Regions from separate parts of the Homo sapiens genome. Here regions 1, 2, 3, 4 and 5 are each linked to region 6. The links are contacts of gene promoters, found by promoter capture Hi-C in blood cells and fetal thymus (Javierre and others, 2016). All regions are on one chromosome and are shown on one strand. The core of a region is centred on a gene start or on the middle of the fragment in contact, and the rest is flanking DNA. Distances in the headings are between cores, read along the strand shown. Region 1 overlaps LINC01494 (long intergenic non-protein coding RNA 1494). Region 2 has its middle 5.5 kb from the start of CDK5R2. Region 3 overlaps WNT6 (Wnt family member 6). Region 4 overlaps CFAP65 (cilia and flagella associated protein 65). Region 5 overlaps LINC01494 (long intergenic non-protein coding RNA 1494). Region 6 holds the start of DNAJB2 (DnaJ heat shock protein family (Hsp40) member B2).

Region 1 (4,935 bases), core at 1,028-3,527, 370 kb after region 6:
CTGTTTCTCATTCTCAGCTCTTTCATAAGGAGTTCCCACAGCAGAGATGTCTGTGCCCTAGCGAGCCCGTTCTTGCCCTATACCCCAAATGTTTCCCTTTCCACCAGGAAGGCCCTGAGGCCTGAGGGAGTGAGGGTAGAGGTGCACCAAGCCCCAGTGGTCATGCCCAGCCTCACAACATTCCAAATAGCACTCCTCCCTCTGCCCTGTTCGGCGGACCCCTTCCCTGTCCAGTGAAACCTTTTTCTCACTCAGGGTGATGAGCTCTCCGGCCTCTGTTGTTCCTCCCCTGCAGTCTGCCATCCACTACAGACCCCCAGCCCACCAGACACTGGGGAACCCCAACTGTGGCCATGGTTTACTTCCTCTTCCAAGGATTTCTGATGCCATGCCGGTTAAGGGACATGGCTTAAGGGTCTAGGTATGTTACATATGAGGAGAGTAAGGCTCAGAGAAATTTAAGGAATTTTCCAAAACCATATAATTTATAAGTGATGAGAATTAGACCTCAGAAGTGCCATTTGATGCCAGGCTAGAAGGCTAAGTGTCTGCTAAAGGCCACCATTCAGTGAGACTAAAATGGGTGAGACGTCTAGGTACTTTACATATATTACATCTAGTCCTCAAAACAACTTCAGCAGATGAGTGTTTTTATTTCAATATAGCAGATACAGAAACTGAGGTCCAGAGAACTTAATGACTTTGCCTTAGGTCACAGGGATAGTGAGAGACTAAACTAGGATTCAATCCCTCCCGCCGCACAGGCTGACCCCAAAGCCTGGCTCTTTCCTCTGCACTGTGCCATGCTCACTGGAAGGATTTTGACAAGAGCAGATATGAGTGGACATGGAGCTAAGGCAGGACAGTTGGGGTACATTCCAGAGAGAGGGAAACATGGACCACAGAGGGGCTGTTTCCATTTTCTATTACTGAGTAACAAACCGCTCCAAAATTCAGTGGCTTAAAAATAACCATTTACATCCCACAGTCCTGTGGGTTGACTACAGTCAGCTGGGCAGTTCTCACGTGGGGTCTCTCAAGCAGTTCAGTTAGATGGTGGCTAAGGCTGGAGTCATCTGAAGGCTCAACTCGGCTGGATATCCAAGATGACTTTTTAAAAATTTATTTATTTATTTATTTATTTTTGAAGACACAGCCTCACTTCGTCACCCAGGCTGGACTGTAGTGGCGCAATCTCACTCACTGCAACCTCCACCTCCCAGGTTCAAGTGATTCTCATGCCTCAGCCTCCCGAGAAGCTGGGACTACAGGCATGTGCCACTATGTCTGGCTAATTTTTTGTATTTTTAGTAGAGATGGGGTTTCGCCATGTTGGCCAGGATGGTCTTGAACTCCTGGCCTCAAGTTATCCGCCTGCCTCGGCCTCCCAAAGTGCTGAGATTACAGGTGTGAACCACTGAGCCCAGCCCCAAGATGACTTTTTAAAGTCACATGTCTGGCACCTCATCTGAATTGGCTGGAACTGAAGGGGCCTGCCCAGGCATTACTCTCTCTATACAGCCTTCCCATGTGGCTTGTTTCGGGTTCCTCATAGCATGGTAGTCTCTGGGTAGACAGACCTCATACACGGTGATTGGCTTGCCCCAGAGTGAACATTCCGAGCGACTGAGGCAAAAACTGCAAAGCTTCCTATTCCCTCTCTTCAGCAGTCATGCAGCTTCGCTTCCACAGCACACTCAGTGAAAAGGAAGCATGGACTGGCCCTTTCAAGGGGAGGGGACAATACACAGGTGTGAAGCATGATTCAAGGCGGACCACCTTTGGGGCCCAGCTATTACAGGGGCTGAGGCAGGAAAGGACTGCTCAGGGAACTGCACACAGTCATGCTTCAGTGGAACATGGTGTGGAAGTGAGAAAAAACTGGAGATGATCGTTTGTGGCATATGGTGGAGGGCTTCAATGCTCAGGAACCTGCATATGGATACACACTGGAGTCTTTAGCTGCCCAGCATCTGAGCCCCCTTCATATGTTGGTGGAGCCTCCCTAATGTGAGTCTTAGTGAGAAGTCAGATACTTGCTCACCTGGCCCCTAGCAGGAAGATCACAGCCAAATCAATGCTCCCAGTCAGGACTCTAAATCTTCAACAAGTGACCCAAGGAGGAAGAGGACTGTTTATAATTCATCCCAGAGGTGGCAGCAGCAAGTGCTCAGGGTGGTGGTAGCCATGTGGGAAGCAGCCCCCAAGCCCCTTAATCAGGCTGCACTTGGGACAGGATTTAGCTAAAGTTCTAGCTGCCTAGCTTCTCTTGGCTCCTGCTTGCTTCCTGAGCCTGATTCTTGAGGCTTCCTGTCAATTCTTTGAGTTCCCTGATGTCATCCCAGTAAATTCCTCTTCTACTAAGTGAACCAGAGTCTGTTTCTGTTGTTTGCAATTAAGAACCCAAATTGGTACAAAGATCCATTGAGAGCTTTAGTCAGAGGAAATGACATGATCAGAGCACTTCGTGGGAGAGAAAAACAGAACAATAGGATAGGGATGGATTGAAGAGGAAGAAAGAGGAATGACAGAGGCTAGTTGGAAGGTCGTTGTGATGTTTGAGGTGTGTGGTGAACTAGGATATTGACCATGTGAATGAAGTGGAAGAATAAGCAGATCTTGGCCACTGATTGAATATAGAAAGGAGAAGAGAAGGTGAGAGTCCAAGTTTACACCAGTTTTGAGGTTCAGTGACTAAGAAAATGATGATGTGACAAAGAGAAACAAGCAAGTTAAGGAGAACTGGTTTGGAGGGGAAAGTCATTCATTCACTTATTCAACAAATATTAAATGCCTGGTCTATGCCAAGCACTGTGCTAGGCATTGAGAAAAGAACAGTAAACAAAACAAAGTCTCAGCCCTTAGCAAATACATACATAAGATAATGAATCTGCATTAATAAAGCTTGAGCCGGGCATGGTGGCTCACGCCTGTAATCCCAGCACTTTGGGAGGCTGAGGTAGGTGGATCACTTGGGGTCAGAAGTTCAAGACCAGCCTGGCCAACATAGTGAAACCCCATCTCTACTAAAAATACAAAAAATGAGCTGGGCGTGGTGGCAGGCCACCTGTAATCCCAGCCACTCAGGAGGCTGATGCAGGAGAATTGCTTGAACCTGGGAGGCAGAGGAGTCAGAGGTTGCTGTGAGCTGAGATGGCGCCATTGCACTCCAGCCTGGGTGACAGAGCAGGACTCTGTCTCAAAAATAAAATAAAATAAAATAAAGCTTGAGTGGGTGGTATCACAGGCATACATTAAAACATGTCTAGCTGGCAGCTGGAACTTCAAGAAAGATCACAGGAGACCAGGTGTGGTGGCTCACACCTGTAATCCCAGCACTTTGGGAGGCCAAGATGGGTGGATCACCTGAGGTCAGGAATTCAAGACCTGCCTGGCCAACATGGCGAAACCCTGTCTCTACTAAAATACAAAAATTAGCCCGGCATGGTGGTGCACACCTGTAATACCAGCTACTCAGGAGGCTAAGGCAGGAGAATTGCTTGAACCCAGGAGGCAGAGGTTGCAGTAAGCTGAAATCACACCACTGCATTCCAGCTTGGGTGACAGAGCGAGACTCTGTCTCAAAAGAAAAAAAAAGAAAGATCATAGGAAGGAAGTTTGGGCCTGAAGACAGAAGTTAGTAGTGATTTCTGTAGACATTTATTTATTTATTCATTCATTCACTTATATTTATTGAGTTCCTACTATGTACTTAATACCATTCTTGGCATTAGAAATACAGCAAAAAACAACAGAGTCTCAGTTCTCGTAGAGTTTCCATTATAGAGTGTGGAAGCAGAGCATAAAGAAATACACAAATATGGTCAAATATGTGATCTATACTATGAAGAAAAATAAAGCAAGGTAAAGGTAAGAGGAAGTTTGCTATGTTATACAGGATGTTCTGCCAAGGCTCCTCTTTTCTATGTTTATTTTGTGTGGGTTTTTTTTTCTTTTTTGAGACAGGGTCTTGCCCTGTCAATCAGGCTGGAGTACAGTGGCTTGATCATAGCTCAATGTAGACTTGAACTCCTGGGATCAAGTGATCCTCCCGCCTCAGTCTTTCAAAGCACTGGGATTCCAGGCATGAGGCACCATACAAGGCCCCTCTCATAAGGAGATATTTCAGTGAGGTCCTGAATGAAGGAAGACAACATTCATGCGGTTATCTGGAGGAAACCGATTTCAGGCAGAGGGAGGAGGTGCAAAGGCCCTGAGGCAAGACAGTGTTTGGATTGCTCAAGGAATTTGCAGGAGGCCAGTGTGGCTAAAGTAAAGTGGATGAGAGAGAGTTGGAGGAGAAAATGAGGTGAAAGAGGTAGCAGGGAGCCAATCCTATCACGCCTTGTAAGTCATGGTGACCTGTAAGTCTCAGCTCACTGCAACCTCCCCCTCCCGGGTTCAAGAGATTCTCCTGCCTCAGCCTCCCGAGTAGCTGGGACTACAGGTGCACATCACCACGCCCGGCTAATTTGTACTTAGTACTTTGGCTCTTGTCCTGTGTAAGATAGAAAGACTTTAGAGACTTTTGAGCAGAGGAGGCACATCACATGACTGACACTTTAGAAGGATCACTTGGGCTGCTGGGTATAGAATAGACTGGGGTTGTGTAATGGCAGAATCAAGGGGAGCAACTAGGAGACAGTTGTAGTCAATTAAGCCAAGAGATGATGATAGCGTGGACCATGAAGGAATGATGGAGGAAGTGACATGTGATCAGACTTTAAATAGAAACTGATGGGGAACTAACACGATCTGCCAATGGGTTTGATGACTCTAGGATTTTTTTTAACGGGGATAGCTGGAAAAGCATTTGCCATTTACTGAATAGAGAGGATTAAGAAGTACATCTAAAGCTCCAAGAATGGCCAGGCGCAGTGGCTCACGTCTGTAATCCCAGCGCTTTGGGAGGCCAAGGCAAGTGGATCACTAGAG
Region 2 (4,585 bases), core at 1,069-3,568, 330 kb after region 6:
GGGTTCTACGGATTTGACTCTTATTATCAGATAAAAATGAATATTAAAAGAACAAGATAACATTTTAGGAATTGGACTAGAGGAGGATTCCTAAAGCCTCTTTCAACTCCACAGTTCTGATTCTAAACAAAATCTGTCCTGTGAATCTGTTTCACTCTCCAGCTCCAGCCCTGTCTGCTTCTCCCTAATCTGTTTCTGTCTGATGGGCTCAGTCTTTGTGTGCACAGCATCCATGTGAGGCCTGCACTTCTGCGGTTCACCCCAGGAGATGAAGGGGAGGGGAGCTTAGGCTCTCAGCAATGTAAATCTCCCTAGGTCCCTCCAAGCTTTAGAGGGGCCCCTGAAAGGTGAGAAGGCAAAGAAGAGGAGGGCAAGATGGCTGAGGCCCAGGATATCCCCAGTAAACATCAAAGGCCCCAGAAACCAAGGTCATTGCACCTCCCTGTAGGGGCCCCTACAAGGAGGCTAATGATGACACAGGTTCTTAAAACAGCCAGGATGGAGACCCAGCCTGGGCATCTGAGTGCCTGGATCCTGCTGCCCCCCCCCCCACCCTGGCACCCCCAACTCCCTTGCCCATCAGTCTCAGCTCCTGAGGTGTGCAGAGGGGGTGGGTATGCACGAGCCCAGACTTCTCTCCCTCTCCTGAGGACCTTACCCCAGGGGAGAAGTGGGTGGCTAAAACAAAGGAGGGGAGCAGAACCCCTCTACAGATAACAGTGGAGGGGGGAGGGGGTAAGCAGAGAGAAGAGAGGAATTGACAGAGGAGGTGCTGCTAGCTGTCAGGAGGGAGACCCAAATTCTCATGTCTTCCCATTTCGCAGGCTGTTTGCTAGAAGGACTTAATTAAGGAGCCCAAATATAGTTTCTTTTGAACAGTGAATAGGGCTGGGAGCACAGATGAGGAATGTGATGCTCTGGGGTGGGGAGAGAAGGGACCAATGCTGAGATGCTGGAGGGCCCAGGGTGAAGGGGACAGAGAAGACAGGGGTGAGCTGGTGACTCCTTTTCCCTGCCTTAAGCTCTGCTGCTTTCCTTGATGGAAGGGGGGCCATTTCTTCCTTTCCCATCCTCTGTCCTGATCTCCCTCCAACTCCCTGGCTCCTGCCTTCACCTCCTTTACTGTCCCCTGAGAACAGCTCTCTCTGTCCAGTCCTCCCAGCACTCACCAGAAGCTTTAAGTCTTGGTTCACCTTCTGCCTCCACCAAGCCCCCTTTTTGCCTCCTCCCTTTCGTCCCCCACTCCTTCTCCTCCCAGGCCCCGCTGGCGCCCAGCATAGCACTACAGATGTAGGAGCAGATCAAGAAGGGTGGGGGTGGTAGCTGTTGCTTTTCTGGGATATTCTTAGCCTGTCTGGGGGCTGGAGCTGGAATCAGCGTTTCCATCTCAACCAGGCAGGTGGCTGCCAGAAACTGCCACTGTGACTGGGTCTTCATCTGGTTCCATATCCCTTATCCTGTCCCTTCCTCCTCTATATTGATTTCATCGATGAACACAGACCCTCTGAGAGTCCAGCCTTCCCACCCTTGTGCCCTAGATGGAAGGTTTCCTCTGCCTATCAGGCATAGCCCCAGGAAGGTGTGCAAACCTCACTGGAGGCTCTGCGGGGAAAGAAGGGCCTTCGAGAACTCTAGCTCAGATGCTCCCTAGAGTGGAACACAGCCCTCTCCTCTCTGCCCCCAGGCCCTCTTCTTTCATCTGCCCCCAGCAACCCCTGCATGGTACTCAGTCCCCAGACTGTATTCACCACCATGAAGGCCTTTCTTATCTTGATTTACAGGAATCACTCAGGGGCCCTAGAGTTTCAGAAGCTGCCTCCTGAAAGCGGCTGAACCCTGGAGTCCAGGCCTCCTTTGGGCCAGAACAAGGGGCTCACTGACCCAGATCTCTCCCCACATCTTTTTTTTTTTGAGACAAAGTCTCACTCTTTTGCCCAGGCTAGAGTGCAGTGGCATGATCTTCACTCATTCCTGGGCTCAAGGGATCCTCCCACCTCAGCCTCCCAAGTAGTTGGGACCACAGGCATGCATCACCAGGCCTGGCTAATTTTTGTACTTTTTGTAGAGATGGAGTTTCACCATGCTGCCCAGGCTGGTCTCTAACTCCTGGGCTCAAGCAGTCTGCCCACCTCAGCCTCAAAGTGTTAGGATTACAGGCATGAGCCACCTCGCCCAGCCTTCTCAGATGCCCTTATCAGTAGAGGGAGGGGCAAAGAAGAAATCTCACTCATTCACAAATCGCACAAAAAATGTTTGTCACCTTAAGAGGGACAGACAGTGCAGGGTCTCCTATGTGGGTTCTGAGGTCATTCGGTCTATGTTCAAATCCAGCCCCTCCACTTATGACCTGGGGCCCTTGGGGCAAGTTTCTTAATTCTTCTGAGGTCTATAAAAGTGGACCATACAAGGTGCAGTAGGAAGAGATCACCATCCACAGTCGGGCTGAGGCTGAAAGCACGTACCAGATCAAGTATGAGGAGCTGCAGACGCTGGCTGGGAAGCATGGGGATGACCTGCGTTGTGCAAAGACAGATCTCCGAGATGAACCAGAACATCAGCAGGCTCCAGGCTGAGACTGAGGGCCTCAAAGGCCAGGGGGCTTCCCTGGAGGCCGCCATCGCAGATGCCGAGCAGTGGGGGGAGCTGGCCATTAAAGATGCCAACACCAAGCTGTCTGAGCTGGAGGCCGCCATGCAGCGGGCCAAGCAGGACATGGCACGCAGCTGGGTGAGTACCAGAAGCTGGCCCTGGACATCGAGATCGCCACCTACAGGAAGCTGCTGGAGGGCGAGGAGAGCCGTCTGGAGTCTGGGATGCAGAACGTGAGTATCCATAAGAAGACCACCAGTGGCTATGCAGGTGGTCTGAGCTCAGCCTATGGGGGCCTCACAAGCCCTTGGCCTCAGCTACAGCCTGGGCTCCAGCTTTGGCTCTGGCGCCGGCTCCAGCTCCTTCAGCTGCACCAGCTCCACCAGGGCCATGGTTGGGGAGATCGAGACCCACAATGGGAAATGGGAAGCTGGTGTCCGAGTCCTCTGACGTCCTGCCCAAGTGAATAGCTGTGGCAGCCCCTCCCAGCCTGCCCCTTCTGTGGCTGCCCCAGAGTCCGGGAGGGAGGCCACTGTGCAGGGGAGCACAGGGAATGGGAGACCCACCTGAGGCTCAGCCCTAGCCCTCAGCCCACCTGCAGGGGAGTTTACTGCGTGGGACACCTCCTTTGCCCATATCTCCAGCTACAAAACAATTCCGTTTTTTCCCCCCAAAATAAAACTTCAGCTAGTTCTACCAACTGGCAAAAAAAAAAAAAAAAAATGGACTATCATCATAAGGTTGTAAGATTTTATTTAATCATGCAATGCTCAACAATGCTTGTATATCACATGTGCATGGTGTTCATAAATGTTAATTGTTAACAAATTATACTGTCATCATTATTTTTACAGAGCAGGAGGAAAGCTTTGCCTGACCCGTGCCATTAGCATTTTTTTTCTCATTAGAACATTTTTCATTAAAGGGCCAGGGTGGTACTATCATTTCTTTTTGTTTGGTTTCTGAAACCCAAATTTATATCTGTGCTTTCCTCTCAGATACTGTGCTCATACCCACTGCTACTCAGACTGTTCCTGGGGGTGGTTTGATTTGCTTCCTAGGGTCATAAAGACCGACAGCATATTAGGCACTGGTCCCCTTTTCTGGTCCTGTTGCAGGCCACTTTAATTTTCTGAAGCTCTGAATATTAATTCTGGGCCAGGTTCCATGCTGGCCCCAAGTCCTGACCGTGCTTTCTGGGAGCTGTACTCTGGCTACTCATTCCACACCCCATGGTCTCCCCAAAGCTCCAGAGACTCTATGGAGAGTCAATTCTGCTTTTCAAGGGCTTTGAGGAAAATGTTCAATAAGATTATTAAACCACATGAGCAGATACTATTTGAGAAACTGTAGCCTACACAGTACTGGGCTAGGTGGTGGGAACACAAAAAGGTGTGAGGTAGGGCTCCAGCCTTCAAAGAATGTACAGCATAGGTGGCAGAGATATGAAAAATAGTGAGAAATAGCAATAAAATGATGTGTCCTAGGGCCAGTTACAGATAATGGGATTTGATGACTCGGCTAATCCTGCCCGCCCCCCTCCACCTTCCACCATCACAGCTAATCCATCTCCAGCTTGTCCTAAATTCATATGCACACAGAGTTAGAATCCATTTTTTTTTTTTTTTTTTGAGACGTAGTTTCGCTCTTGTTGGCCAGGCTGGAATGCTATGGCGTGATCTCGGCTCACCGCAACCTCCACTTCCCAGGTTCTAGCGATTCTCCTGCCTCGGCCTCCCGAGTAGCTGGGATTACAGGTATGTGCCACCATGCCTGGCTAACTTATTGTATTTTTAGTAGAGATGGGGTTTCACCGTGTTAGCCAGGATGGTCTCGATCTTCCGACCTCAGGTGATCTGCCTGCCTTGGCCTCCCAAAGTGTTGGGATTACAGACGTGAGCCACCGTGTCCGGCCAGAATTCATTTTTAACTGGGGTCTGGCTCCTGCACCTGGAACTGTGTTTGCTCCAGTGCATGGCCTTCCTTGTCCAACCCC
Region 3 (4,716 bases), core at 498-2,997, 410 kb after region 6:
CAAGAGAAGCTCTGTGCCCTAGACATGTGAGTGGGGGCTTCTTGGACTGTCCAGCACAGCACAGTGGAGACTCCAGCAGAATGCAGCCATGTGAACCCAAGCCAATGGTTCTGCTATATAGAGCAGACCTACCAAGCTGAGTTCTGACCAATCATGACCTCAAAAATCCTGAGAAGTGATTACTTTGGGGTTGTTTGTTATGTAGCAATGGATAACTGAAACAGAGCGAAATCCCTTTGTATAAAGAAAATGAGGCTAATTTGGCCTCTGTTGTAAAGTTCTAAGCAGCAGCACCAACTGCAAACCCAGAGTGTCTGACCCCAAAGCTCATTTTTTGTCCTCCATACCTTGATGGGGGAGTCATTCCCCATTGCAGTATTTGGACTGGAGGAAAGTTGGAGGCTCTGGGTCCTGGAAGTTGGGCTATGCCATCCCTCTTTCTCTCTGGAGGAAGATGAGAGCTCAAGCTTCAGCTCTGGAGAATCCAGAACTGCCCTCTGTCTCCTCACTTTCACCAGTAGCTTCCCAAGAGGAACCAGAAGGAAGGAAATATTGTTGGGTGTCAAGAGGTATGCATCAGAAGCTTCTGATGCCCCTGTCCCTTTAAAGAGGAATTGCTAGTTCTTCTCCAGCTTGCAGATCCAGGACCTAGATGTGTGACAGGAGTGAACAAGAAGAATGCCAAGGGGAGATAGCGAGTTTCCAGGAGAGGCCAACCTGGTCGGGAGATAGGGACCCAGGTGATAGCCCCTGAGGTGCTAGTTCTAGCAAAACCACCTTCTTCTGGAGCCTGGCAGCCTGAAGATCAGTCTCCCCCAAAACTGTGGGTCCAGCCCTGGTGGTTTAAATATCTTTATTGATACTAACCTCACCCACCATCCTGTGGCCAGCAGTTCTGGGGAGCCCAGTATCCAGAGGCCTTTAGACTGGCTTTTTTCCAGTCTAAAAAACTGTTTCCTCCTAGAGGCCAAGGGGAGGGAGGGCCTGTACAGTGTCCTTTAAACGCTCCCCGAGCGCCTTTTCGGGGCCGTCTGGCGCCCTGGGCCTTCGTGGGTGGGCGTTCCTCTCAAGCCCCTCGCCTCACCATTTCCAGAGCCCTGGGAGTTGGGCTTTGGCAGGGAGAGGCTGGGCTCGAGCGGCGAGAGGCGCCCGGTGCCGGTGCCCTGAGGTCCCACAGGTGCGAGCCACCGCTGCGCGAAGTCAGTCTAGCGGCCGGGCGGCGGGTCACAGGCAGAGGCTGAGCTCCTTGCGCACACGGCAGCGGTGGCACTGTACTACGCAGCACCAGTGGAAGCGGCACAGGCAGTTCTCTTCGAGCTGCACGCTCTCCTGGCGGTGCCCGCGGCCGCAGCACAGCAGGTCGCAGCCGCTGAGGTCCGGGGCGCTGCTATTGCAGGCGCGACCGCGCGTGCCGGGGGAGCCGGTGCGTCGGTTGGGGGCGCAGAAGTCGGGCGAATCGGCGGCGTAGAGGAGGTCCGCTCGGCCCGGCGGCTTGAGCGTGCGGACGGCGGGCAGCAGGGCCTTGCCGTCGTTGGTGCCCATGACGCGTGAGGCGCCGTGGAAGCGCTCCAGCAGCCGCGCGCCCACCTCGCGAAATGGAGGCAGCTTCTGCCAGCAGGTGCGCAGCGCGCATGATCCCGACAGCCCGTGGCATTTGCACTCGGTGCGCGTGTGGCTCCGCACGGCCTGCGGGAGGCAGAGGGGCGGACGCATGTGGACAGGTAGGGGGTGCAGGGAAGGGCCCAGCGGATGGACAGAAAATAAGATTGGGAATGGGAGGTGAAAGGAAGAGAGGAAAATGCAGACAAAAGGAGACCGCAAGTTCAGGGGGAGGAAATCAAGGAAAGGACAACTCGGAGGGGAGGAGCAGGAGGAATGGTGAGGATGGAGGAATATGATGATGACGAAGAGGGGAGACGGGGACAATATGCAGCGCAGAGATTCCAGGGTCCAAAGGCAGGGGGTGGGGGAGAAAGCAGAATGGACAGCAGGGGTGAGATTCTCTTTGGAGGAGGGGAGAGGTGGCAGCTGTCGAAGTCTAGCTCTCCTGCCTACCTGGCCCCCTCATTCCTACCCCTCACGGCCCCCAGGCCGGGCTGAGCACAGACGCAGAGCCAGCCTCCTGGGCATCTGTCTCCGTCACCCCTCCCCAACCCTCTCGGCAGGTATGTGGGCCTGTCCGGACATTCCTCTTCAGGCCCCCTCCTCCCCCTGCCCGATGCCTCAGGCCCGAACCCTAGAGGACACGGTATGTATGGCGATGTCCCTGGAGAACGCTAGAACGGAGGCATGGGGTGCAGGAGGGCCCGCTGGGAATGCAGTACTGAGAGTGGAACCCAGGCGGCCTCTCCCCTAGTCACTGTCTGAAGCAGGGTCTAAGATTCCCAAACCCACCAAGCGCTGATGGTTCAGAAGACCCAAGAAAATCATTTCTGGAAGCTCAGAGTCCAGGGGCTAACCTGACCATGTGTCCCACTCCCACCTCCTGAGTCTGCCCTGCCCCCTCCTGGAACCATCACACCCAGACAACCTTCTTGCCCCTGAATGAGAGCTCCTGGGGCTCTCCTCGTTACAGAGGGGAGAGGAGAGGCTGCCATGGCTCTGGGCAGGTGAGACCTGGGCTGGTGTTGCTGGGCAGCCAGTTGGCAAATGCCCAGAATTGGTCACAGCTGTCCTGGCCTCCACCTGACTCCCTCCAACCTCCACTAGGATTGGTTCCTTGTCCTTCGCTCTTTTCCATTGCCCCTCAGACCTGTTCTAACTCTTTCTAGGCCTCTCTCACTCCCCCTGGCTTCCCTGTACCAAAACCCCAGACCTTGCATTAGCTTCTATCCTGTCTTTCATCCCCACCTTTGTTTTATTCTCCTGCCCCTGCCTAGGCATCCAGACCTCCTACCCACTGCAAGCTTTGCTTCACCTGTCCTGTCTTGAAGCTGTGCCCTCTCTGCCTGGGGTCACTAAAGACCCTCAGTCCTATTCCCTGAGTGTCCCTTCCCCCATTCTGCCCGCTGTACCGTCCAGCATCTGGCCTTCTCAGACCCCCACGTGACTCCTTCTTGGAGGCTGGACACCTCTCCTCCCACATGTCCATCCATGCTTGCAGCCCATCTTTCCGCCCGTGCGCACTCCCCCACACATTAACGCCCCCCTCCACCTACACACCCTCACTCCTGCCAACACTTCCTCAAGCACACTCCTGCGCGCACACTCACATTTCCGCACACACTCACTCCATCCTGCCCGTACGCACCAGCCTGCCCGCCTCGTTGTTGTGCAGTTGCACCAACGCGCGGATGTCTCCGCGTCCCCGCTTGTGCCGCGCGTCCATAAAGAGCCTCGACTTCTCGTCCCCGAAGTCCACGTCGTCGCCGCAGCCTCCCCACTCCCAGGCGGCGCTGCCTTCCGGGGAGCCCGCGGGGCCAGGGGGTCCGGGGGTGCCGGGCAGGCCGGAGGGCCGGGGAGGGGCCCGCCCGCGGGGCGCCTGGCAGCCGCACTGCAGCAGCTCGCCCATAGAACAGGCCTGCGTGACGGCGTGGCTGGCGCCGGCCGCAGTGATGGCGAACACGAAGGCCGTCTCCCGAATGTCTGTGAATGCAGACAGGTGCAATCAGCGCGGGCTGGGGCGGTCAGCTGGGGCCTGGGACCTGAAACCTGCGGCGGGAGGGCTGCCCCAGGGGCCTGGGAGGCAGGGTCCTTGCAGGGTGCCCAGACACATGTGAGGGGGAAGTGGGGCTCAGGCAACTTCAGCGAACCAGTTCTCCTCTCCTCGGGTCCCACAGCAGGGAGAAAGCAGCCCCACTTCCGCCCCCTCCCCACACTGACCCTGTTGCAGGATGCGTCCAAAGGCCTTGCTGTGGCTGGAGCAATTCCAGCGGCGGAAGCGGAACTGGAACTGGCACTCTCGCACCCCGAGCCGGGCGCCCCGAGCTAGCTCTGCCACCACTTCCGGCTCAGCCTGGCACAACTCGGCCTGCCGCCCGGCCAGCCGCCGTGCCTTCCTGCAGATGCTGGTAGGGTCCATAACCAAGGGGCTGCCCACAGCCCTGGAAAGCAGAGAATAGCAGGTCAGGGGTGTAACCCAAAAAAGGGCTTGGGGTGGAAGGGAGGAGGACCAGCCCCACTCAGCCCGCAGCGGGAGCTGTGACATGCCCTCCCACCCTACCTCCAAACTGAGCTTGAGATTGTCCTGTCTGGCTCTCCTGCTAGTCCATGTCTGTGTCCCCTCTAACTAGAGTCTAGTCTGATAATTGCTACAGAGCAAAGATTCAATCTTATCTTCCTGCACACATCTTTGTAAATAAATTCTTATAGAAATTTTACTCAAGGTGAAGGCAGCTGGCATCAGGTAAGTCAAAGTTAAAACTCAAACTTCTAGCCCAAAAGGGTGACAAGGAAAAGAAATAACAGAAGAAAGATCAAGAAGGCCGTCAAGGAAATTCATGTGTCGTCAAGAGACACCAAAGAAAAGTAAGCAGTATCAAGGAATGATATGGTCCTAGTGGACCACAAGCTGGATATGTGTCAGCTGAACAGCCCGGATGAAAGGCAAGAACAATCCCAGGGAGAGAGAATGCCACGAGATGTTGGAACGGCTAGGGAATGGAGCCTAGCTGAGAAAAGTCACACCCTCTCCATAGCCCAGGTTTCTCCTTCTATAAAATGGGTGTGTTGGGCTTTCATCTCTAAGGTGGGCCCTCCTACCCTGATATCTTCTAT
Region 4 (4,991 bases), core at 2,466-4,965, 270 kb after region 6:
TTCGGAATGTGCCTTTCACACTCAGCATTTGCACAACATACAGACACGCACATATTTACAGAGCGGTTCTCTTTCCTTTTTTTTTACAGTAATGGCCCAATACTATATCTGTTACTTTCAGGAATAATGATGCTTTCACTCAGCATTATATCAATAACATCTCCTTTAGATCAATACATATATCTAACGCATTCTTTTAAATAGCTGTATAATATGCCACAATATGGATGGACTTTAAATCGTTAAATCACTCCTCTATTGGAAACTCCAATTGTTCCCAGCTGCTTTTTTTTCATGACCACTACAAAGAAAGTGGTGATAGACATCCACACAAAGGTGTGCGTTGCGTGCACATAAGCATGCACACATATGTGCTTTTATTCCTATGAATTGGTTTCCCAAACAGACACTTCTGGGTCAAAGGGCATAAGCTGCCAAACTTCCGTCCAAGAGGTTGAGCAGTTCCCTCTCCACCCACCTATGTTTGAGTCTGTTCTTTCTGAACTTACCAGTGTTGAATATTACTATTCTTCATGCTTCAGATGTGAAAAAAGTTAAGACTGGTTCCTTCTGAGGGTTTGGACTTAGGCCTCCCTGACTCCTACTGAGGCTTCCAGGCCCGTGTTGCACGCTTTCTCTCAGGTGTGCGTTGTGTGCTTTCTCTCAGGTGTGTGTTGCGTGCCTTCTTTCAGGTGCGTGTTGCACACTTCCCGTCAGGTGTGTGCTGCGTGCATTCTCCTCAGGTGTGTGTTGCACGCGTTCTCCTTAGGTGTGTGTTGCGCACATTCTCCTCAGGTGTGTGTTGTGCACTTCCTCTCAAGTGTGTGTTGTGTGCATTCTCCTCAGGTGTGTGTTGTGTGCTTTCTCTCAGGTGTGTGTTGCACGCGTTCTCCTCAGGTGTGTGTTGCACGCATTCTCCTCAGGTGTGTGTTGCGTGCATTCTCCTCAGGTGTGTGTTGCACGCTTCCTCTCAGGTGTGTGTTGTGCGCATTCTCCTCGGGTGTGTGTTGTGCATTTTCTCTCAGGTTGCTTTTGTGCGCTTTCTCTCAGGTGTGTGTTGCATGCATTCTCCTCAGGTGTGTGTTGCGTGCTTCCTCTCAGGTGTGTGTTGCATGCATTCTCCTCAGGTGTGTGTTGCGTGCTCTCAGGTATGCGTTGCACACTTCCTCTCAGGTGTTTGTTGCGCGCATTCTCTTCGGGTGTGTGTTGCGCACTTTCAGGTGTGTGTTGCGTGCTTTCTCTCAGGTGTGTGTTGCGTGCTTTCTCTCAGGTGCGCGTTGCGTGCTTTCTCTCAGGTGTGCGTTGTGCGCTTTCTCTCAGGTGTGTGTTGGGCACTTTCTTTTCCTTTTCTGGATGCTCCCTATCGTATCCTCCACCCGGTTTGCAGCTGGAACCAGTTCTGTGCCATCTCCGAGAGTGAAATGGGTTCTCCTTTCAGATTGTGACCTCAGGACCCTTTGTCACTAGTTTTGTCGGCTACTTAAGGTGCATTATCTACTTTACCGCAGTCCTAGGCATGTCAGGGGCATTAACTCTGTGCACAGCCTTGCTTCTGTTTCAAGAGTGCCAGCCCTGCTGGGGCATCTGTTCTCCACCCTGTGCCCAAGTTGGCCTGGACACCCCACTCCCTGGGGCTGCTGGTTGGTGCTGCCAGCCTTCCTAGGTGTCCCAAATGGCCCTTTCCCAAGAGCTTTGTCACAGAAGGGTTCATGGCCAGCTCAAAGTGGCCCCCATATTCAAGCAACACCTTGACTCCTGGCATCCACAGTGGGAGCCCCACTCTTCACTTCTTGAGTCGCCGTGGCCCAGAGTCTGTTCCTGGGTTTTGGGGCCATTATGAAACGAGAATCCACAACAGCCACATTTGCTCAGGCACACATGGGACAGTTTGCCAAATGGGTGCATGAAGTGCGGGAGTCATGGAAGAAGCCTCCACCTGCCCATCAGGGTCTCAGAGCCCCTGCCTCTCTGTTCTGCCTGACCAGTTTCTTTGTATGGCTTTGCACCCCTCTCCCAGGGCCTTCCTCCTTCCAAGTGACCAGCGGATTGACGTGGAGCTCTGGGCAGAGCAAGCAGAGTTGAATTCCACTGAGCTCCACCAGATGCGCGTGCAGGACAATTGCCTCTTCTCCATCAGCCCCAAGGCTGGGAGCCTGAGTCCTGGGCAGGAGCAGATGGTGGAGTTAAAATACAGGTGTTCCCCACCCCCCAAACCCCCTGCACTTCCAGTCATAGAGGCCCCTACCCCGGGCATTTCATTGTATGACTCCAGGGCACCCCAAATGGCCATTCCCTGGGAGGACCACCTTCTCACCTGCAGAGGAGGTCTAATTTCCTTCTTGCCCCATCCCAACTCAAGGGCGAGTTGCTCCCAGGGGCTGGCCAGCTCAAAGCCACAGAAATGTCATGTCCATTTGCTCTCCTACTTGTACCAGGGCTCCAGAACTCACTCCCAGACTTATCTGTTTCTTTCTAGCCACCTGTTCATCGGTACTGATCACCTCCCAGTGCTCTTCAAGGTGTCCCATGGCCGGGAGATCCTGGTGAGGCCCCAGCACACTGGCCCTGCCCTAGTTTCAGGCTGGAGGAGGGGGCTGGCTGGACAGGAGCAGGGAGCTGTGTTCTCCTGGGGAACTGGGGTCCAGATCTCCACTGGCTGTGTCAGTTCCTCCGGGGGAACTTTTATTTCCAGCTAAATTTCATAGGTGTGACAGTGAAGCCGGAGCAGAAGTATGTGCACTTCACCTCTACTACCCACCAGTTCATCCCCATTCCCATTGGTGACACGCTACCCCCACGGCAGGTCAGTGGTCCACATTGTCCTGTTGACCAAGAAGGCCTAAGTGTTGATCTCTAGGTATGAGTGTCAGCCCTTGAGAGGGTGACAAAGACATGGCCCTCTGGAAGCATTGAGGGGCTGGGCCAGCAGGTTGAACCCCCAGACTGGGCAACTGGGAGAGACTTGAAGGGAGAGGCTGCAGTGTCCTAGTTCCTGGTGCTAAGCCCTTTGCCAGGCCCAGTTCCAATTAAAAAATGAGGATTTTTTTTTCCTTTAGCAAAATGTTCTTCAAACTTCTTTGACCATGAACCATACTAATATATTTGATGTTATATATGCTTACACCCCAGTATATACATAAACATACAACCAAAGTAGAATTACTGCAAATTGATAATTATACTACTACATGCAAAGTATACTGATATTTTCTTTTTTGTTCTATTCTGTCCAATTTTTTAAATGCTGGGCATGACCCACAACATTGATTTAGATCTGCTCACCAGTAGGTCTTAGCCACAATTTGAAAATCACTGCTCCAAAAAGGATGTCCTTCTGGAATGTGAAGAACTAGAATGTGAATTCTTGGGAAGCTTTAGACCTTTCTTTCTTTACTGATTGAAGGCAATACAGTTTCCTTGCTCTGGAAATGTAGATTGGTAATCTCCAAGAGGGGGACATAATATTTTCCCAAACATTTCACAGCTGTGCAATTTCTAATCATTTAGAAGCCCATGTGTTTCTGAGCAGGGGCCTCCAGCCATTCACCCTAGAGGCCAAGGAATGGGCTTCCTGGATCTAGAGGGGAGTTTCCTATCCCCAACTCTGTTCACTTCCATACCCACCCGCTACCCCTCTGCCTTCCCAGCAGCCCCACTAGGGTCTGTGACAGTGAAGCTGGTTTGAGCTACTGGGAATACATAGTGCCATTTGCTAAAAGGAGATAAACTGGGAGCAGGAATAGGCTTTAGAATGAAGAGTTTGGTTCTGGCCAAGTTTGAGATGCTAATGAGACAACCAAGAGGGCTTGTCAGGTAGAAGGTGGACACCAAGTGTCTTAGTCCATTCTGGCTGCTAAAACAAGTTACCATAGATTGGGTGGCTTATAAAGACCACAAATTTATTATAATTTATTGTAATTTAATTTATTATAATTTATCTTAATTAAAAAGGCTGGGGAGCCCAAGATCAAGACATGGGCAGGTTTGGTGGGGGCCCACTTCCTGGTTCAGTGGCTTCTTGCTGTGTCCTCACATGGTGGAGGGAGCAAACAAGCTTCCACAGGCCTCTTTTATAAGGGCACTAATCCCACTTGTGAGGGCTCCGCCCTTGTGGCCGAATCACCTCCTGATCATCTCTTAATACTATTGTATTGAGGATTAGGTTTCAACATATGGATTTTGTGGGGACACAAGCATTTAACCCATAGTACCAGGTCTGGAGCTCAAAGGGTGGTCCAGGCTAGAGAAATAGAGTCAGCATGCTCAGGAGTGAGTGCTCAGAAAGGGGAAAAGGGGCTGGGACTGAATCCAGATGGACTCTATTCTCTCTGGCTTCAATTTTCTCATCTCTAAAAGGAAGGATTGGATCAGAAGATCTCTGGTTTCTTCTAGGACATTCTATGATTCCCAACCTTTGGAGTTGGTCTTTAGTCCCTCAGACTTTTCCGCCCCCTTACTTGCCTTTAAGCAGAACTCCCTTGGCCAGGCGCAGTGGCTCAAGCCTGTAATCCCAGTAATATGGGAGGCCAAGGTGGGAGGATTGCTTGAGGCCACGAGTTCAAGACCAGCCTGGCCAACACAGTGAGAACCCCATCTCTAAAAAATATATATATTTTTGAAGCAGCTGTGTGTGGTAGTGCATGCCTGTGGTCCTAGCTACTTGGCAGGCTGAGGTAGAAAGATTGCTTGAGCCCAGGAGGTCAAGGCGGCAGTGAGCCATGATTATGCCACTGTATTCCAGCCTGGGTGACAAAGTGAGACCTTGTCTCAAAAAAAAAAAAAAAAAAAAAAGAAAGAAAAAGAAAAAAAACTTGATGAAGTTAAACTGAAGACAAATAAAATAAGCTACTCCTTTACAAATAAGATTACAGATTATCCTAAAATATCACCGGCTGACCATACAGTTACATACTTCTCGAGTGATCAAGCCACACGGGAGCTCACAGACTCAAAGGGTGACATCATGGAGATCAGCCTGCCCTCCCACAGTG
Region 5 (4,529 bases), core at 1,120-3,619, 360 kb after region 6:
ACACAGAGTCCCCACCAGGGCACTGCCTAGTGGAACCATGAGAAGAGGGCCACCGTCCTCCAAACCCCAGAATGGTACATCCACTGACAGCTTGCACCATGTGCCCAGAAAAGCCACAGGCACTCAATGCCAGCCCATGAAAGCAGCTATGGGGGCTGTACCCTGCAGAGCCACAGAGGCAAAACTTCCCAAGGCCTTGGGAGCCCACCTCTTGCATCAGCATGCCCTGGATGTGAGACATGGAGTCAAAGGAGATTATTTTGGAGGTTTAAGATTTAATGACTTCCAGCCAGGGACAGTGGCTCACGCCTGTAATCCTAGTACTTTGGGAGGCCGAGATGGGTGGATTGCCTGAGTTCAGGAGTTCAAGAACAGCCTGGGTAACACGGTGAAACCCTGTCTCTAATAAAATACAAAAAATTAGCTGGGCATGTCAGCATGTGCCTGTAGTCCCAGCTACTCGGGAGGCTAAGGCAGGAGAATTGCTTGAACCCAGAAGGTGGAGGTTGCAGTGAGCCAAGATAGCACCACTGCACTCCACCCTGGGTGACAGAGCAAGACTCTGTCTCCAAAAAAAAAAAAAAAAAAAAAGATTTAATGACTTCCTTGCCAGGTTTTGATCTTGCATAGGACCTGTAGTCCCTTGGTTTTGGCCAATTTCCCCCTTTGCAATGGGAGCATTTACCTAATTCCTGTATTTCCATTGTATCTTGGAAGTTACTAACTTGTTTTTTATTTTACAGGCTCATAGGCGGAAGGGGCTTGCCTTGTCTCAGATGAGACTTTGGACTTAGACTTTTGAGTTAATGCTGGAATGAGTTAAGACTTTGGGGGACTGTTGGGAAGGCATGCTTGGCTTTGAAATGTGATGACATGAGATTTTGGAGGGGCCAGGGGTGGAATGATATGGTTTGGCTCTGTCCTCACCCAAATCTCATTTCGAATTGTAATCCCCACATGTGGGGGGAGGGGCCTGGTGGCAGGTGATTGAATCATTGGGGTGGAGTTCCCGCTTGCTATTCTTGTGAGAGTGAGTTCTCACAAGATCTGGTTGTTCAAAAGTGTGTGGCACTTCCCTCTTCACTCTCGCTCTTTCCTGCTCCACCACGGTAAGACATGCTTGATTCCCCTAACCCCTCCACCACAATTGTAAGTTACCAGCCATGCTTCCTGTTAAGCCTGTGGAAATGTGAGGAAATTAAACCTCTTTTCTTCATAAATTACTCAGTCTCAGGTAGTTCTTTATAGTTAAAATGGATTAATATATCATGTGTTGATGAAGTTCCTGTTATTCCCTCCTTACCCTCCTACGTGGATTATCTAAAGATATTTATTTCACTCCCACAAAAATGTTTTGTTCTCACCCATTCCCGAGAGCTGAAAGTAGGCTGTGGGAACTTTGAGTGAGAAAATAAGAGCAGCCTACTCCCCCTGACCATATTCCTGCCTGATGGCCAGTATTTGGGTGACACTTCACCCTGCCACCAATTTTTTGAGTCCTATTTCCCACAGACTCTGTGTTAGTCCATTCTTGTGCTGCTATAAAGAAATACCTGAGACTAGGTAATTTATAAAGAAAACAGGCTTTGATTTGGCTCACGTTTCTGCAGGCTGTACAGGAAGCATGGTGCCAGCATCAGCTTCTTGTGAAGGCCTCAGGAAGCTTTCAATCATGGCACAAAGTGAAGGGGAGCCAGCACATCACATGGTGAAGAGAGGGCGCAAAAGAGAGAAGGGGGAGGTCTCAGATTCTTTTAAACAACCAGTTCTCATGTGAACTAACTGGGAGAGAACATCACCAAGAAATGGTGCTAAGCCATTTGTGAAGGATCCACCCCCATGATCAAATCACCTCCCACCAGGTCTCACCTCTAACAGTGACGGTTACATTTCAACATGAGATTTGAAGAGGACAAACACCCCAAACATAACAGACTCACTTGTGACTTTGCCCTGTAAACTTTCAGGGAAAATGAGGTCACTTCTGACCCAGAGACTCTGTCATCTTACCCTCTCCTGGGGGTCTTCATCTAAAGAAGTAAGTGTAAATTCCTTACTGATCCAGTTTTGTATGTGTATGTGTGTGTATACACAAAATTTACTATATAGAAAGTAAATTCTTCTACTATATATATGCATTATATATATACACATTATAATGTATATATATAATGTATATATAAATATATATAATTGTGTGTGTGTGTGTGTGTGTGTATATATATATATATATATACAGTAGAAGAATTCAGAGGTGTTAGAAATTATGAAGAGGGGCCAGGCACGGTGGCTCACGCCTGTAATCCCAGCACTTTGGGAGGCCAAGGCGGGCGGATCACGAGGTCAGGAGATCGAGACCATCCTGGCTAATGCGGTGAAACCCAGTCTCTACTAAAAATACAAATATTAGCCAGGCGTGGTGGCGGGTGCCTGTAGTCCCAGCTACTCGGGAGGCTGAGGCAGGAGAATGGCATGAACCCAGGAGGCAGAGCTTGCAGTGAGCTGAGATCATGCCACTGCACTCCAGCCTGGGCGACAGAGCGAGACTCCATCTCAAAAAAAAAAAAAAAGAAAGAAATTATGAAGAGGATTATAAGATAACTACCACAGAAGGCAGGTGGAAGTGGTCTCTGTGGAGAAGGAAGAATTGGGGAAGAGCCCACAAGGAACACACGAGACCATCGTTATATTTGTTTCTCACCCTGAGTAGTGGGTACACAGATGTTCACTGGACTATTAATCTTTAAAATGTACATATATATTTAACACATTGAAGTGTACATGATGGATTTCATAATTTTTTTAAAGTAAAATATTGTGAAAGGGAAGGGAAGGAAGGAAAGGAAGGCAAATGAAAGGAAAAGAAAGGAAGAAAGAAAGAAGGAGGGAGGATGGGAGGAAGAAAGAAAACTGGATTTGTTAATAGGAAAGAATATATCAATGTCAAATCCCCATTCTAGGCTAGCATTATTCAGCATCCAGAAGGATCATCTCAACAATTACTCAGTGGATCAGCTTATTTAATTGATGACTGTACAGTTAATTCATGCTCAAAAATCAAACATTCTAAGCTTCTTTCTATGAATATCTTCCAGACCAAGATTATTCATCTCATGGTTTTAAAGGACAGAATTTCCTGGAGAATGTTGGTCCTCTTGTAGGTGCTACTGCAGCAAAGTTGAAACAATCATACGTCAGACCAAAATACAAGTCAGTTCTTCAGTTTTCACTAATTAAAATTAACTCTGTCTAAATAAATCAACTCTTACCACCTTCAGGATTCATATCTCAAGTAAGAGACATTCTTACTGACCAATAACACAAAATATCCCACCCTCAGCACTAGGATCCTCAGTTTTGAATTCTTTCAACCATTTTTGTCAAAAGCCTTGCTGTAGCCAGGTGTGGTGGCACATTCCTGTAATCTCAGCTACTCGGGAGGCTGAGGAGGGCAGATCCATTGTCCCTAGGAGTTGAAGGCCAGCCTGGGCAACATAGCAAGACTCTGTCTCAAAAAAAAAAAAAATACATGACAACAATAACATGAAAGCCAGGAGAATGCTAAAATGAATTAAAGTGTCATAAGGTCCCTAGAGTTATTTAGAAAAGGGTGAAAGTACTAATTCAAGGGTGACCTAATTAAGCCAAGGATGCATGCTATAATATGTGGGTAATAAAATAACAATAATAGCAAACACGTGACTACTAATTTATAGAGGATGAAAATGAAATAATTAGGAAAATATTGATTGATCCAAAAGAAGGCAAGAAAGAGGTAAAAAGAAACAAAAAACAGATGTGAAAAATGGAAAAAAATGGCAAAATGGTATACTTTAAACCCTACAGTATCAGTAATTACCATAATATAAATCAATTAAAGGCAAAGATTTTCAGACTGGACAAGAAAAAAAAAACAACTATATGCTGTTATAGAAGACACACCTTAAACATAAGGATGCATAAAGGTTGGAAATAAAGGGATTTTTGGCCAGGTGTGGTGGCTCATGCCTGTAATCCTAGCACTTTGGGAGGCTGAGGTGGGTGGATCACCTGAGGTTAAGAGTTCAAGACCAGCCTGGCCAACATGGTGAAACCCCATCTCTACTAAGTATACGAAAATTAGCCGGGTGTGGTGGCACACGCCTGTTATCCTAGCTACTTGGGAGGCTGAGGCATGAGAAACACTTGAACCCGGGAGGTGGAGGTTGCAGTGAGCTGAGATTGTGCCACTGCACTCCAGCCTGGGCAACAGAGCGAGACTCTGGAAAGAAAGAAAAGAAGGAAGGGGAGGGGAGGGGAGAGGAAGGGGAGGGGAAGGGAAGGGAAGGGGAAGGGGAAGGGGAAAGGGAAGAGAGAAAGAGAAAGAAGGAAAGAAAGGAAAGGAAGGAAGGAAGAAAGAAAGAAAAAGAAAGAGAAAGAAAGAAAGAAAGAAAGAAAGAAAGAAAGAAAGAAAGAAAGAAAGAAAGAAAAGAAAGCGATTTTTTTAAAAAAAGAAAAAAAATAAGTCATGAAAACACCAAAAGGAAGCT
Region 6 (4,375 bases), core at 1-2,500:
TTTTGTCTGGGTGCCACTGGAGAGCCTTGCGCCGATACCTGCAGAAAGTGGGTGCAGAGGAGAGAGTCGGGGGACAAATGCAGGCACTTCCCACCCAGGAACCGAACGACCTGTTTTCCCATTAGCCTATCACTGTCCTTTCACCCCCGGGTCCCAGTCCACCCCAGCTGCTAGGGCTGCCGCTGCTGTGATATTTTCATCAAGTTCCACCCTCTCTCCTCCGCCACCAGTGCTGGGACCACATGTACAAGCGGATACAATGCCAGGGTCCCTAGCCCCTCCCTAGGGCTCACTGGACTGGGGCTGCAAAGGTTGGGGCACATGTGGCCTCGAAGAGTACAGGGACACCGGCCCCTCCTCCTCATAGAGCCTCTTTGCACTGCATCTTTGCACTGCAGCCTGAGAATGCCCAAATCTAGGGGGAAGGGGGAGGGGAGGGGAAAGGAGGAGGAGGAGGAGGAGGAGGGGAAGATCAACTGGAGAACAACCCATAACACAGTGCAGCTCCCAGAGGAACTAACTACTTCACTCTCTGGACGTTCTCCTTGTACTCTACCAGGGGTCTCTTTCCTCCCTGCAGGTGTCACTCGGAAGAAGCACCCCAGTGCTTTCTAACGACCTGGTTCCCTCAGACACCTACAGGTGTCACTCTGAAGTGCCCCATGGTGGTGGCGGGTGGAGGGTGAGAGGTCTTCTGTTGCATACGGAGGCACTTACGCCTTCTTGATGTCATCAGCGGACGCACTTCGCGGCACGTCTAGGATCTCGTAGTAGGATGCCATGGCAACTGGTCAGTCGTCAGGCGGGCCTCCTTGGGGCTGCAGAAGAGAAGGAGTCAGGCGGAAAGAACCAAGAGCCCCACCCTGTGGCTGCAGCAGTCCCCCTCCCCGGGTGGCGGAAGGCGCTCCCAGTTGGAAGCGGAGCACACCGGGCTCTGCTTGCGGCCGGTGACTAGGCTCCCTCCGGCAGCCTTATCTGCCCCCGCAGGCCGGGGCCAAGAGCTATCTCGACGCCCAGGCCCAGGAGCCCTATCGGGGCCCCCCAACTCCAGCAGTCCGATCCAGGGCCCCCAGCCTGACCCGGGCCCCCGGCCGCACCTCCTCCGCCAGGAGTCCCGGCCTCCTGCGGCGCCCCGCCCCTGCCCCCCGCCGGGAACCGTCTGGCACCCGCAGCCCGGCTCGCGGCTGCTGCGTAGGACGCGCCCGGCCCAGCTGTGCGCGCAGGCATGCGTCAGCGGTGCGGAAACTACTAGAGACGGGGAGAAGGCCGGCTCCGCCTGTCCCCTGGGGGGGTGGGGGCCTGCAGGGGCTGCCGGGAGAAGAGGGCGGAGCCGGCTATTTTGGGCACACACCAGGACGACGTCAGCCCCAGCTGGGACCTGGGAGACTGCGGCCCCGCCTCCATCCAAGCGAGAAGCGCTCGCACGGAGGCTGGGGCAGCCCACAAACAAGCCGCTCGGCCCCCAGGTTCCTCTGTCACTTTCTTATAAACATGAGCGATGATCCATGCTTACTCACCCACCTCGAGGACTCAGACTCTTCCCTCCCTCCCCCCACCACGGTTCTAACTCCTCCCCCTTCTTCAGCTCCCAGCTCCAGCCCCAGGTCCCCCAGCAGGCTGCCCTGGCTTTCCTGAGTAGGTCAGAACTGCCTTTTACAGCATCTCGTGGCATTTCCTTCATCAGGCTTGTTAGAGCCACAAATTAGCATTTATTGGTTTGATTATTTTTTATTACCATTCACCTCCCCCACTAGAATGTCGATTTCACAGGACAGGAATTGTGTGTTTTTTCTCACTGGTCTATTAGAGCAGTCGTAGGGGTTCAAAACTACCCGTGGGATGAATAAATAATGAACACCTGCAAACCTCTTGTTGACAGTTTTGACACATTTGGGGGAGGTGAGGTAAAGGGGGCCGTACAACGGAATTCCCCAGGTTCAAGTCTTCCCAAACTGATCCTGAGTAGGCCTATTCCACTTCAAAATGCTCCCTGGGTTCAGGCCTCATTGGAGAGTTAGGAAACCTTCCAGAACTGGCTCCTGCTTGATCCCATCCAGGCCAATCCAAAGGCGTTAGCTGAGCATTTTTCTGCATTCAAGATGCTGCCAGGCCGTATAAAGAAGAATGTGGCCCAAGCCCTGCCTTTGCAGAGCTTGAACTTGATAAGATACCAGCCCATCAGTGTAGCCCGCTGGGAAACCCGAGGCTTTGGAAACAGAGTACAACCTGGCATTACTGTGAGACTTGGGAAAATCTCTGAGCACTCTTTTTTTCTCACTAAATATAGGTAGTGCCTAGGGTTGTTTGAAAGTCAAATGAGACATGGTACGAATTAGGTGTTACTGCGGTCCTGCTGGCATCGTGATTGGCTCAAGCAATAATGGTTATGTGAGTCCAGAAAAGTGCTTTAGGCTGGGGGACCCAGGAATACTTCGCCAACGAGAAGGGTTTGAGGCGGACGTGAGAGAAGAAGGTGGTGTGAGTGTCCTGGTTTCCTGGCTGCCCACCATCAGAACCTCCTGCCTACATTTGGGGAATTCCCATCGCAAGGGCCCTAATGGAAAGCAGGCCACCATTTGCCACAAAGCCCCAATGCTTGCTCTCCCTGACTCGGCTCTGGGGTTGCAGGCAGAAGACATGAGCTCCGCCAATCGGATGCTCCAACTGGGACTTTGAATCTGGAGCAAGTCACGGAATAGCAAGGCTGGTTTAGGAATTCATTTCTGCGGCGGCGGTGGAGGCGATGGGGCCAACAGCGGCCTCTAGTGTCTGGAGGAGGAAGTGTCAGCGCTACTGCCGCAGGTGAGGGACGAGAGTAGGAGGATCACTGCGGAGGGTGGAGGGGACAGGAGTCTCCTACACAGGCTGTCCTGTGCCCAACCTTGACTGTGGTACTGGCTGCCCAGCTTCCCTAGGTGCCTGTCTGATTGCTGACCCTTGTTTGCTGGCCCTTGCATTGATTCTGTGTGCTATCCGATATCTCTATAATTGTTGGGGGCAGGGGACTTGAAACAATTTGCCAGTTAGCTTCTGCTGTTTATAAGAGTCCTGACTGACACAAAGACTAAGGGTTAGACTTGGTATAAGAGGAAGGAGTGGTTGGGTTAAGTCACTCCAAATTTTCCAGATCTCTGCCTTTTTCTTCTTACTCTGCTGTGCCAACAGACATTTGTCTAGCACCTACCGTGTATGTCTTGTTATATTAAGAAAAAGAATATAAAAAAGTTTAAATTCCAATCTCTGTGCTCAAGGGGATAGGACATAGACAAATGACAACTGAGGGAAATTATATGGAGCACATCTAGCAGACAAAGGTTTAATTTCCTTTGTCCACAAAGAAATGCCAACTAATGAAAGACAATGACATTTTTAAATGGACAAAGGGACAGGCAGCTCACAGAAGAGGAAATACTGGCTTTTAAACAAATGAAAAGATGCTCAATCTCATTCACAAAAAAACTGTAAACTAAAGCTACGACAGGCCAGGCATGGTGGCTCATGCCTGTAATCCCAGCACTTTGGGAGGCCAAGGCGGGTAGATCACCTGAGGTCAGGAGTTTCAGATCAGCCTGGCCAATATGGTGAAACCCTGTCTCTACCAAAAATACAAAAAGTAGCCAGGCGTGGTGGCACATGCCTGTAATCCCAGCTACTCGGCAGGCTGAGACGGGAAAATCACTTGAACCCGGGAGGCGGAGGTTGCAGTGAGCCAAGATCGTGCCATTGCACTCCAGCCTGGGCAACAAGAGTGAAACTCCATCTCAAATAATAATAATTTTTAAAAGAATAATAATAATAAAGCTACAACAAAATACTTTGGGGTTTTGTTTTTTGAGATGGAGTCTTGCTCTGTCATCCAGGCTCCAGTGCAGTGGCACTATCTTGGCTCACTGCAACCTCCCAGGTTCAAGCAATTCCCCTGCCTCAGCCTCCCAAGTAGCTGGGATTACAGGCATGTGCCACCACCCCTGGCTAATTTTTGTATTTTTTGTAGAGATGGGGTTTCACCATGTTGGCCAGACTGGTCTCAAACTCCTGGCCTCAGATGATCCTCCTGCCTCAGCCTCCCAAAGTGCTGGGACTATAGGCCAGAGCCACTGCACCCGGGCACATGGCCCTAACAAAATACTTTGTTTCACTTATTGGATGATTGACAAAGACAAAAAAAAGAAAAAAGTTGAATACATTGTATGGGCAAGGCTGAGGGCACAGGCATTCTTATAGATTGGTAGTGGGAGGGTGGGTAATTTGATGTGACTTTTTTTTTTTTTTTTTTTTTGAGGCAGAGTTTCACTCTTATTGCCCAGGCTGGAGTGCAATGGTGCAATCTTGGCTCACGGCAACCTCTGCCTCCCGGGTTCAAGCAGTTCTCCTG

Evidence for each region. Contacts are between HindIII fragments. The CHiCAGO score rates a contact against its expected background, and 5 or more counts as called.
Region 1: a contact is called between a fragment that was not itself captured here and the fragment with the promoter of DNAJB2 in region 6, in 6 of 17 cell types (total B cells, naive CD4 T cells, naive B cells and 3 more). The highest score is 8.3, in total B cells.
Region 2: a fragment that was not itself captured here is called in contact with the fragment with the promoter of DNAJB2 in region 6 in 1 of 17 cell types (M2 macrophages); the score reaches 5.9 in M2 macrophages.
Region 3: a contact is called between a fragment that was not itself captured here and the fragment with the promoter of DNAJB2 in region 6, in 5 of 17 cell types (activated CD4 T cells, total CD8 T cells, naive B cells and 2 more). The highest score is 6.7, in activated CD4 T cells.
Region 4: a contact is called between a fragment that was not itself captured here and the fragment with the promoter of DNAJB2 in region 6, in 8 of 17 cell types (M2 macrophages, naive CD4 T cells, total B cells and 5 more). The highest score is 8.5, in M2 macrophages.
Region 5: a fragment that was not itself captured here is called in contact with the fragment with the promoter of DNAJB2 in region 6 in 1 of 17 cell types (M0 macrophages); the score reaches 5.1 in M0 macrophages.

The regions. Positions count from the first base shown.
Region 1 is chr2:218,901,889-218,906,823 of GRCh38, reverse strand. The region is part of intron 4 of LINC01494 (long intergenic non-protein coding RNA 1494); the gene reads left to right. Among named protein-coding and RNA genes, the nearest start is that of WNT10A, 24 kb to the right of the region's middle. The HindIII fragment of the contact is 1,258 bases long and covers 1,649-2,906 here.
Region 2 is chr2:218,951,871-218,956,455 of GRCh38, reverse strand. It overlaps the pseudogene KRT8P30. Among named protein-coding and RNA genes, the nearest start is that of CDK5R2, 5.5 kb to the left of the region's middle. The HindIII fragment of the contact is 2,281 bases long and covers 1,178-3,458 here.
Region 3 is chr2:218,870,354-218,875,069 of GRCh38, reverse strand. WNT6 (Wnt family member 6) reads right to left here. Exons shown (of 4, transcript NM_006522.4): 2 at 3,823-4,043; 3 at 3,251-3,585; 4 at 837-1,686. The coding sequence ends at 1,225. It also overlaps a transcript of WNT10A not described here. Among named protein-coding and RNA genes, the nearest start is that of WNT10A, 8.1 kb to the left of the region's middle. RefSeq lists an enhancer at 2,469-3,415 and a silencer at 3,494-3,563. The HindIII fragment of the contact is 2,323 bases long and covers 586-2,908 here.
Region 4 is chr2:219,011,071-219,016,061 of GRCh38, reverse strand. It overlaps CFAP65 (cilia and flagella associated protein 65), which reads left to right. Exons shown (of 35, transcript NM_194302.4): 22 at 2,018-2,194; 23 at 2,477-2,543; 24 at 2,693-2,803. CFAP65-AS1 (CFAP65 antisense RNA 1) reads right to left here. Exons shown (of 3, transcript NR_046086.1): 3 at 340-2,160. Among named protein-coding and RNA genes, the nearest start is that of CFAP65-AS1, 11 kb to the right of the region's middle. The HindIII fragment of the contact is 682 bases long and covers 3,375-4,056 here.
Region 5 is chr2:218,919,199-218,923,727 of GRCh38, reverse strand. It overlaps LINC01494 (long intergenic non-protein coding RNA 1494), which reads left to right. Exons shown (of 5, transcript NR_110238.1): 3 at 1,968-2,038. It overlaps LOC124906119 (a long non-coding RNA gene), which reads right to left. Exons shown (of 2, transcript XR_007088090.1): 2 at 3,004-3,167. Among named protein-coding and RNA genes, the nearest start is that of LINC01494, 9.2 kb to the left of the region's middle. The HindIII fragment of the contact is 1,408 bases long and covers 1,666-3,073 here.
Region 6 is chr2:219,276,241-219,280,615 of GRCh38, reverse strand. DNAJB2 (DnaJ heat shock protein family (Hsp40) member B2) reads right to left here and starts at 1,250. Exons shown (of 9, transcript NM_006736.6): 1 at 1,098-1,250; 2 at 718-818; 3 at 1-38. The coding sequence starts at 782. RefSeq lists silencers at 926-1,405, 2,647-2,849 and an enhancer at 2,426-3,130. The HindIII fragment of the contact is 26,435 bases long and covers 1-4,375 here.